2 separate regions of the Homo sapiens genome follow, and region 2 is linked to region 1. Evidence: promoter capture Hi-C in 16 types of primary human blood cells and fetal thymus (Javierre and others, 2016). All regions are on one chromosome and are shown on one strand. The core of a region is centred on a gene start or on the middle of the fragment in contact, and the rest is flanking DNA. Distances in the headings are between cores, read along the strand shown.

Region 1 (3,404 bases), core at 243-2,742:
TAGGTAAGACACCTGTTCTAGTGAATGGCAACCATCCACACAGCTGCCCAAGCAAGGCATTCTGTATATCCGTCTCAAGGTCTCTCGACCTCTAATTCTTTCCACCATGAATCAAGAGATTTTCCAGAAGGAGAACTCTTATCAAGATACTCTCCTGTTGAAAATCCTTCAAAGGTTCCTCACTGCCTACAAGATGACTTCTTAACACAGCTTCAAGTCTTCTGCTTCCTTCTGATCACCTGTGTTCTCTCCCTCAGGTCTGCTCCTTGAAAAAAGCAGTTTGGTCTGCTTTCTTTTGCCTGGACCCATTATGTGCTCTCAAAACCCCCTGGACCTACCCTTGTCATTGCACTTGTCGTACCCAGTGTTGACTTGTGTACCTTCTCCAACTAGATTAGGCAGTAAAAGTTTTATTCAGACCGTATCTTTAACGTCCAACACTGGGAATAACGCGCAGTATCCTCCTCAGTGTCTGCTGTAAGAATGATGAATTCACTTTTTTTTTTGAGACACCGTCTCACTCTGTCACTCAGGGTGGAATGCAGGAGGTTGCCCACTGCAACCTCTGCCTCCCAGGCTCAAGTGATTTTTCGGCCTCAGCCTCCCGAGTAGCTGGGACCACAAGGGCGCGCCACCACGCCTGCTAATTTTTGTATTTTTGATAGAGACGGGGTTTCGCCACGTTGCCCAGGCTAGTCTCAAACTCCTGAGCTCAGGAGATTCACCCGCTTCGGCCTCCTAAAGTGCTGGGATTACAGGAGTAAGCCACCGCGCCCGGCTGGATTCACTTTCTTACCGAGAACTCTAAGAAGGAGCCACCGCCTAATAACGTATTTCTGAAGGCAAAAGTCCGGATAGCAGCTTTATTTCTGACACTGCCATCCGTCGGCCTGTGGTACAGCTTTCTAGTGGGCAACCCCATCCTTTTGGTAAGCAACTACTGCCTCCGTGTCAGACGCTCTGCGGCTGACAGAATTAGAGACAGTCCCCGCCCCAGATTGCTCCCCTCGCTGCAGCAGGGGATAGTTCGCTGAAGAACAGGGATCATTGTATGACTTCAGGAGAATGCGAGCTTTGGCCCAGGGTGCACAAATCATTAAGGCTCAGGCCACTCCGACTTCTCCGCCCAAGTCCAGGGACCTCTCGAGGTGCTGAAATCCCCTCAGCCTGACCAATGCTCTTTGACCAACGCTGGTAGTTCTGGGCGCTGGTCACACCTATGGACTACTGGCCCTCCCCTTCCCATTGCACCCCATCTCTGACCCTGCAAGACCCGGGACCGCTGACCTCGGACCCCTTGCCCTATTTCTCAGCCCTTTGGCCACTCTTACTCCGTCTTACATTTTCTTGGCCACATCCGTCTCCCGGAACTGCTCCTTCACCATGATGACCGCTGCCGGGACGCCTCCTTGGCACTCGGGAGGCCAGATTAGAGAAACGATGCCCCCAGCACCTCCTGGGGCTGCTTCTGGACTCGCCGCTAACACATCTGCGGCATCCTCTCGGCCACCGTAGAGTGTCCCACGTGTCCGCTTCCTCTTCCGCTACTCGCCCGCGCGTCTGTCTGTCAAGAGAGACTTCCGGCATGCCTTTTTTTTTTTTTTTTTTCCCTTTCCCCGCACCGTCACCTGGTGGCGCTTACTGGAAGCCGCACCGAGGCGTGTGCTGTATTTTAAAAATCCCATTTCTGGTCAATTTCTCCACGTAATCAGACACCCGCAGAGAAACTGCATATAACTCTTTGCCTCAAGGCTTTTAGACAAGCAGAGGGCCAAAACTTGCATAAAATGGAAAATCATCATCATTAACATCAGTACCATCTAAATTAAGAGCTTCTAATTGTTTTAAGGGAAGGTGGAAGCTAAAATGAACCGGCCCATCCAACAGAGGGCACTATCTGTGGAGGACCAACAAAGGAAAACAGAGCGGAAAATATGGGCGCACATGTGCCTCCAGTTCATGAAGTTATTTGGAGGGAGGGGGGAAGAATTAAACTTACATTATTGATTACAAAAACAGTTGAAAATCTGTTAGAGTGAAAACAGCCATGGTAATCTACAGAAGAAAAGGGAGAATGGAAAGTAAAGATCATTCATGTCTTGAAATAAGTTGTCTACAGTCTGTGAGAACTTGTGGGAGGTGATCCTAGTGTGATATATTAGTGCATGAGCCTAGCAAGGAAATCACATCACCACAGGGCTTAGCGCTTAGAATTAGAACTAAGTCCTCATTATTTGTGAGAAACTCAAAACAGAACTTAACAAAAGTGTTTAACAACTTTCAATTTTTAAGAAGGGACGCTATCTCATTTTCAGACGCCATGGATCCTCACTAGCAAAACACAATGTCACAGACAAACGAGGCATATCAGGTTTTTCTAACTCATTTCGGTACTCCATCACTTAATCATGAAATAATGTTGACTATATATATATATATATATATATATATATAGTCAACATTATGGGTTTTTTTTGTTTTTTTTTTTTTTTTTTTTTTGAGACGGAGTCTCGCTCTGTCGCCTAGACTGGAGTGCAGTGGCGAAATCTCGGCTCACCGCAACCTCCGCCTCCCGGGTTCAAGCGATTCTCCTGGCTCAGCCTCCCGAGTAGCTGGGACTACAAGCGCCCGCCACCACGCCCAGCTAATTTTTGTATTTTTAGTAGAGACGGGGTTTTACTATGTTGGCCAGGCTGGTCTCGAATCCCTGACCTCGTGATCCGCCCGCCTCAGTCTCCCAAAGTGATAGGATTACAGGTGTGAGCCACCACACCCGGCTCTGATGTTTACAATATTATACCAACAAGGGTTGGATCGTGTGTGACTTATCTAGAGGTTAAGAGCAAAAGTTATGAAATCACAGTGCCATCATGGGAGTCTAGCTTTCACCATTTAAAGTTGTGTAGGCAGCCAGGCGTGGTGGCTCACGCCTGTAATCCTAGCACTTTGGGAGGCCAAGGTGGGCGGATCACCTGAGGTCAGGAGTTCGGGACCAGCCTGGTCAACATGGTGAAACCCCATCTCTACTAAAAATACAAAAATTAGCTGGGGTTGGTGGTGTGCGCCTGTAATCCCAGGTACTCGGGAGGCTGAGGCAGGAGAATCGCTTGAAGCTGGGAGGTGGAGGTTGCAGTGAGCCGAGACCATGCCATTGCACTGCAGCCTGGGCGACAAGAGTGAAACTCCATCTCAAAAATAAAAAAAAATAAAAAATAAAGTTGTGCAGGCCGGGCGCGGTGGCTCACGCCTGTAATCTCAGCACTTTGGGAGGCCGAGGTGGGCAGATCATGAGGTCAGGAATTTGAGACCAGCCTGACCAATATGGTGAAACTCCGTCTCTACTAAAAAATACAAAAATTAGCCTGGTGTGGTGGCGCATTCCTGTAATTCCAGCAACTCAGGAG
Region 2 (3,404 bases), core at 527-3,026, 280 kb after region 1:
CGCGGGGGCGCGGGGCGGGCAGGATCGATGCCCTGGTTTCCGAAGGGCAGAGGCCGCCCGACCTCCAGCCGGCCGGGCCGCCCCGCCCCGCCCCACCATCGCGCATGCGCGTCCTCCAGAGCGCTCCCTTGGCAGCCAGCCCGCGAGGACGCGGCTCCCCGCCAGGGGCAGTGCAGGGAACAGTCATGCCTCCCTGCCCCCGGACGGCCTCACTAGCGGCTGCAAACACCGGCCCATACCGGAGCCTATATGCATGTGCATTAACTCGCAGGTGCACGAACCCACGGTCACACGTGCTGTCATGCATTGTACACCTGTGCTTGTTCATGCGTGTTCACAGACGCATACGTGGGGGCCGTGCTCGCCCACAGACTTACCTCCAAAATGTCTTTGAGTGTGTTCACATAGGTACACGCATCACGTGTGGACTCGCGCAGCCATGCACTGCTTACACACTCAAATATAGGAACACCCATGGGCATGTCTATATATACACTCACAGGCACAGCAAGTGATGCCCTTGTTCTTGCCAAAGGTTGAGGGAGGGACAAAGCGCCTAATTTAGATCTGAGACAGGATCTAGTGTGGACTAGGTACCCCTCTTCCCCAGTGTTTACACTACTTATAAATTAGTTGCGTTTGAGAAACTACATAAAAAACCTGGAGATTTCACCTATAGATCTGGATTTCTGGCTTCTTTTGCAAAATCAGAAGCTCGGGAAAATTAAGGCATACTCCCAGCTTATCACAATGCGCTGGGGCTGAGCTGCAGGGTATCCCTCAGTCTGTGATTAAAGTTCCCCTACCTCCACCCAAAGGCCCCCTCCCCATGCTGGTTCCTTCTTCCCTAGCCAGGATTTCCCACGTGGAGCCTCAGCCCTAGCCCTGACTTTGGAGCTGGGCTAACTAGCTTTAGCCCTGATGTCCACAGCAAGGAGATCCTCTCCACTGTATGATGTTGGGGGGGGGGGTGCTGCCAGCCATAAGGAATCCCTCTGCAGTCTGCAAAGTACCCTCTTCACGCAAGGACGTGGTTCACCACAGCAGAACCACGTGTGGTTCTGCTGACAGCTCCGAGAGCAGAGCGCTAGTGCTTCCATCTTATAGTTGAGAAGATGGCGGCTTGGGAGTAATGATATTACCACCTAGTTGGAAAGTGCAGATGGGGTTGCAATCACTGTAGCTGAAGTGTGGGAGGGGGAGCAGGGTTCCTCTACTTTAAGGTGCCCCTGAAGCTGGCTCCTGCCTGGCTCTGGCACATCTGTCTCCCCTCTCTGATATTGTTCCTCTCAGCCTCTGGCCTGGTGGGGACGCCTGGTTCACTGAGGGAGAGGCCAGTTCCTGAAGCTTCTGGGTGTCTGCATGATGTCAGGCTCTGGCTAAACTAGCGAGTGGCAGCCCAAGAGGCAGTGGGGAGCTATGTGGATGTTAGTGTCACCCACTGCCCACCAGTCCTGGTGCCCCTTACTCCTGCATCATCTCATCCACTCAAGGGCTCTGGCTACCTCTGAGGGCTGACACCCTGCCCAGTGGCTCACCTGAGCGCCTGTCTCACTTATTCTTCTCCACTGGAAATCTGGCATGTCCTTGACTCTCAGCATGTCCAAAGCCAGTCTGTGAAGTGGGGTGACCTCAGGTGGGGTGTCCAAAGTGGGTATAGCCTGAGCTCAGATCCCAGCTCTCCTTCTCCCTCCCTGTGTGACCCTGGACAAGTAATTGCCCTCTGTGCCTTCAGTGTCCTCCTCTGCAAACTGAGAACCATAATAGTACCTGCTTTGAGGATTGCCCAGTGAGGATTAATTGAGGAAATTTACACAAAGCAATCTGTGTGGTGCCCAACACAGATCCGGTGCTCAGTCAATACCAGTGCTTTTTAACTTTAGCTGGTTCTTCCTTCCGCTGCTCCCACCTTGGTTGGTTTGTACTTTCACCAACCCAGGACAGGATGCTGAGAATTACTCCTGCTCCTCTCTTTGCATCTTCCACACATTCAGTCCTGTCAATTTGACCTCCCCAATATCTCTGGAGTCTGCGCTCTCCTCTCACCCAGGGTGCCTCTGCTCTGGTTTGGTTTGGTGTCACCTCTGGTCTGCACACTTGTGTCCCCTAGCCAGGTTCCCAGGCTGCAGGCTCCTCGAACTTAAATCCAGTTTCATTGCTGCCTTTGAAATGCACATGGTGTCACTCCACTCTTAAGGTGCACATCCAAGCTTCATGACCTGGCATTCACTGTGGGTGGCTGAAAGGATAGCCATGGGTCTAGGGTGAAATTTTAGGAAGTAAAGCTGGATGTGTGCTTTTTCTCTCACCGTCCTGTGTCTGCCAGACCTCACATTTAGCAGCCAGTGGACCCTTCACTCCCACCTATCATACACATTTTCTCCCCTCCATGCCTTTGCCCAAGCTGTACTCTCTGCCTGGAAATCCCCTTCCCCACAATTCCAACTCTGCTTTCTGTCTTGAGCTCACCTATCCAGACCCTCCAGCCTCCCTTTATATTCAGTTGTTACCTCTCTCTCATGATCTGCTTAGAGCACCCTGCATATATTGCCTTGATTTTGCACTTAACCTCATTTGTCATATTTCTCTGTTTACATACCACCCAGACCAATGCTTCTCAAGCTTTATCAGGCACATGAACCACTTGGGGCTCTTTTCCAAATGCAGATTCAGCTGGTCTGGGCTGGTGTCTCTGTATTTTTAACAAGCTCCCTGGTGATGCTAATGGTGCTGGTTCAGGACTATATTTTAAATAACAAATACTTGGATAGTGAGTCCCTAGAGGGCAATGACTTGTGTTCAGTTCATCTTGGTATCCCTGGTACCTAGCTAACAGCTTGACAAATGGAAAATCAATTAAATGCCTACTGAAGTAAACGAATGAATGAATGAATGAACGAAAGGCATCTCATCCAGATGAGAGTGTTGGAAAGTCTTTTGGAGTTGTTGACACCTGAGTTGCATTGTTAGGGAGGTATAGGAGGGAGCCAGGTAGAGAAGGCAGTGGCGGGTTGAGATACTCCAGGTGAAGGTCAGTGCTAAGGCATAGGGATGTACAGAAGTGCAGGTGCAGGATAGTGTAGGAATGGAAGACTTGAAGTTCAAGGTGTTGGGGAAAGAGACCAGGTCGCCAATAGCCAGCCCTGGATTCCGTGCTAGCTTGTTTGATCCTAGAGCCTTTGGAGAATGGCATAATTCCAACCGTGGGCCACTCCTGCAGCAAGCTAGGAAGAAATTCCAGGGAGGAGATGTAAGACTGGGTAGTCACCTAGGGGACTTCTCAGTCAATGGTGTGGAGATCAGCCCATGGCGGTGAGGATGGAGTCAGGGAACAGATTAAAGAGAAACTGAGGAGGAAGTATAGACAGAACTTGATGAGTGAGTGGAAAAGAGGGTGAAGGAAG

The links. Contacts are between HindIII fragments. The CHiCAGO score rates a contact against its expected background, and 5 or more counts as called.
Region 2: a fragment that was not itself captured here is called in contact with the fragment with the promoter of POLR3A in region 1 in 2 of 17 cell types (total CD8 T cells and naive CD8 T cells); the score reaches 6.1 in total CD8 T cells.

What each region holds. Positions count from the first base shown.
Region 1 is chr10:78,028,023-78,031,426 of GRCh38, forward strand. POLR3A (RNA polymerase III subunit A) reads right to left here and starts at 1,493. Exons shown (of 31, transcript NM_007055.4): 1 at 1,342-1,493. The coding sequence starts at 1,385. RefSeq lists an enhancer at 1,413-1,662. The HindIII fragment of the contact is 13,008 bases long and covers 1-3,404 here.
Region 2 is chr10:78,303,398-78,306,801 of GRCh38, forward strand. The region is part of intron 1 of LOC124902468 (a long non-coding RNA gene); the gene reads left to right. Among named protein-coding and RNA genes, the nearest start is that of LINC00595, 38 kb to the left of the region's middle. RefSeq lists a silencer at 1-268. The HindIII fragment of the contact is 863 bases long and covers 1,346-2,208 here.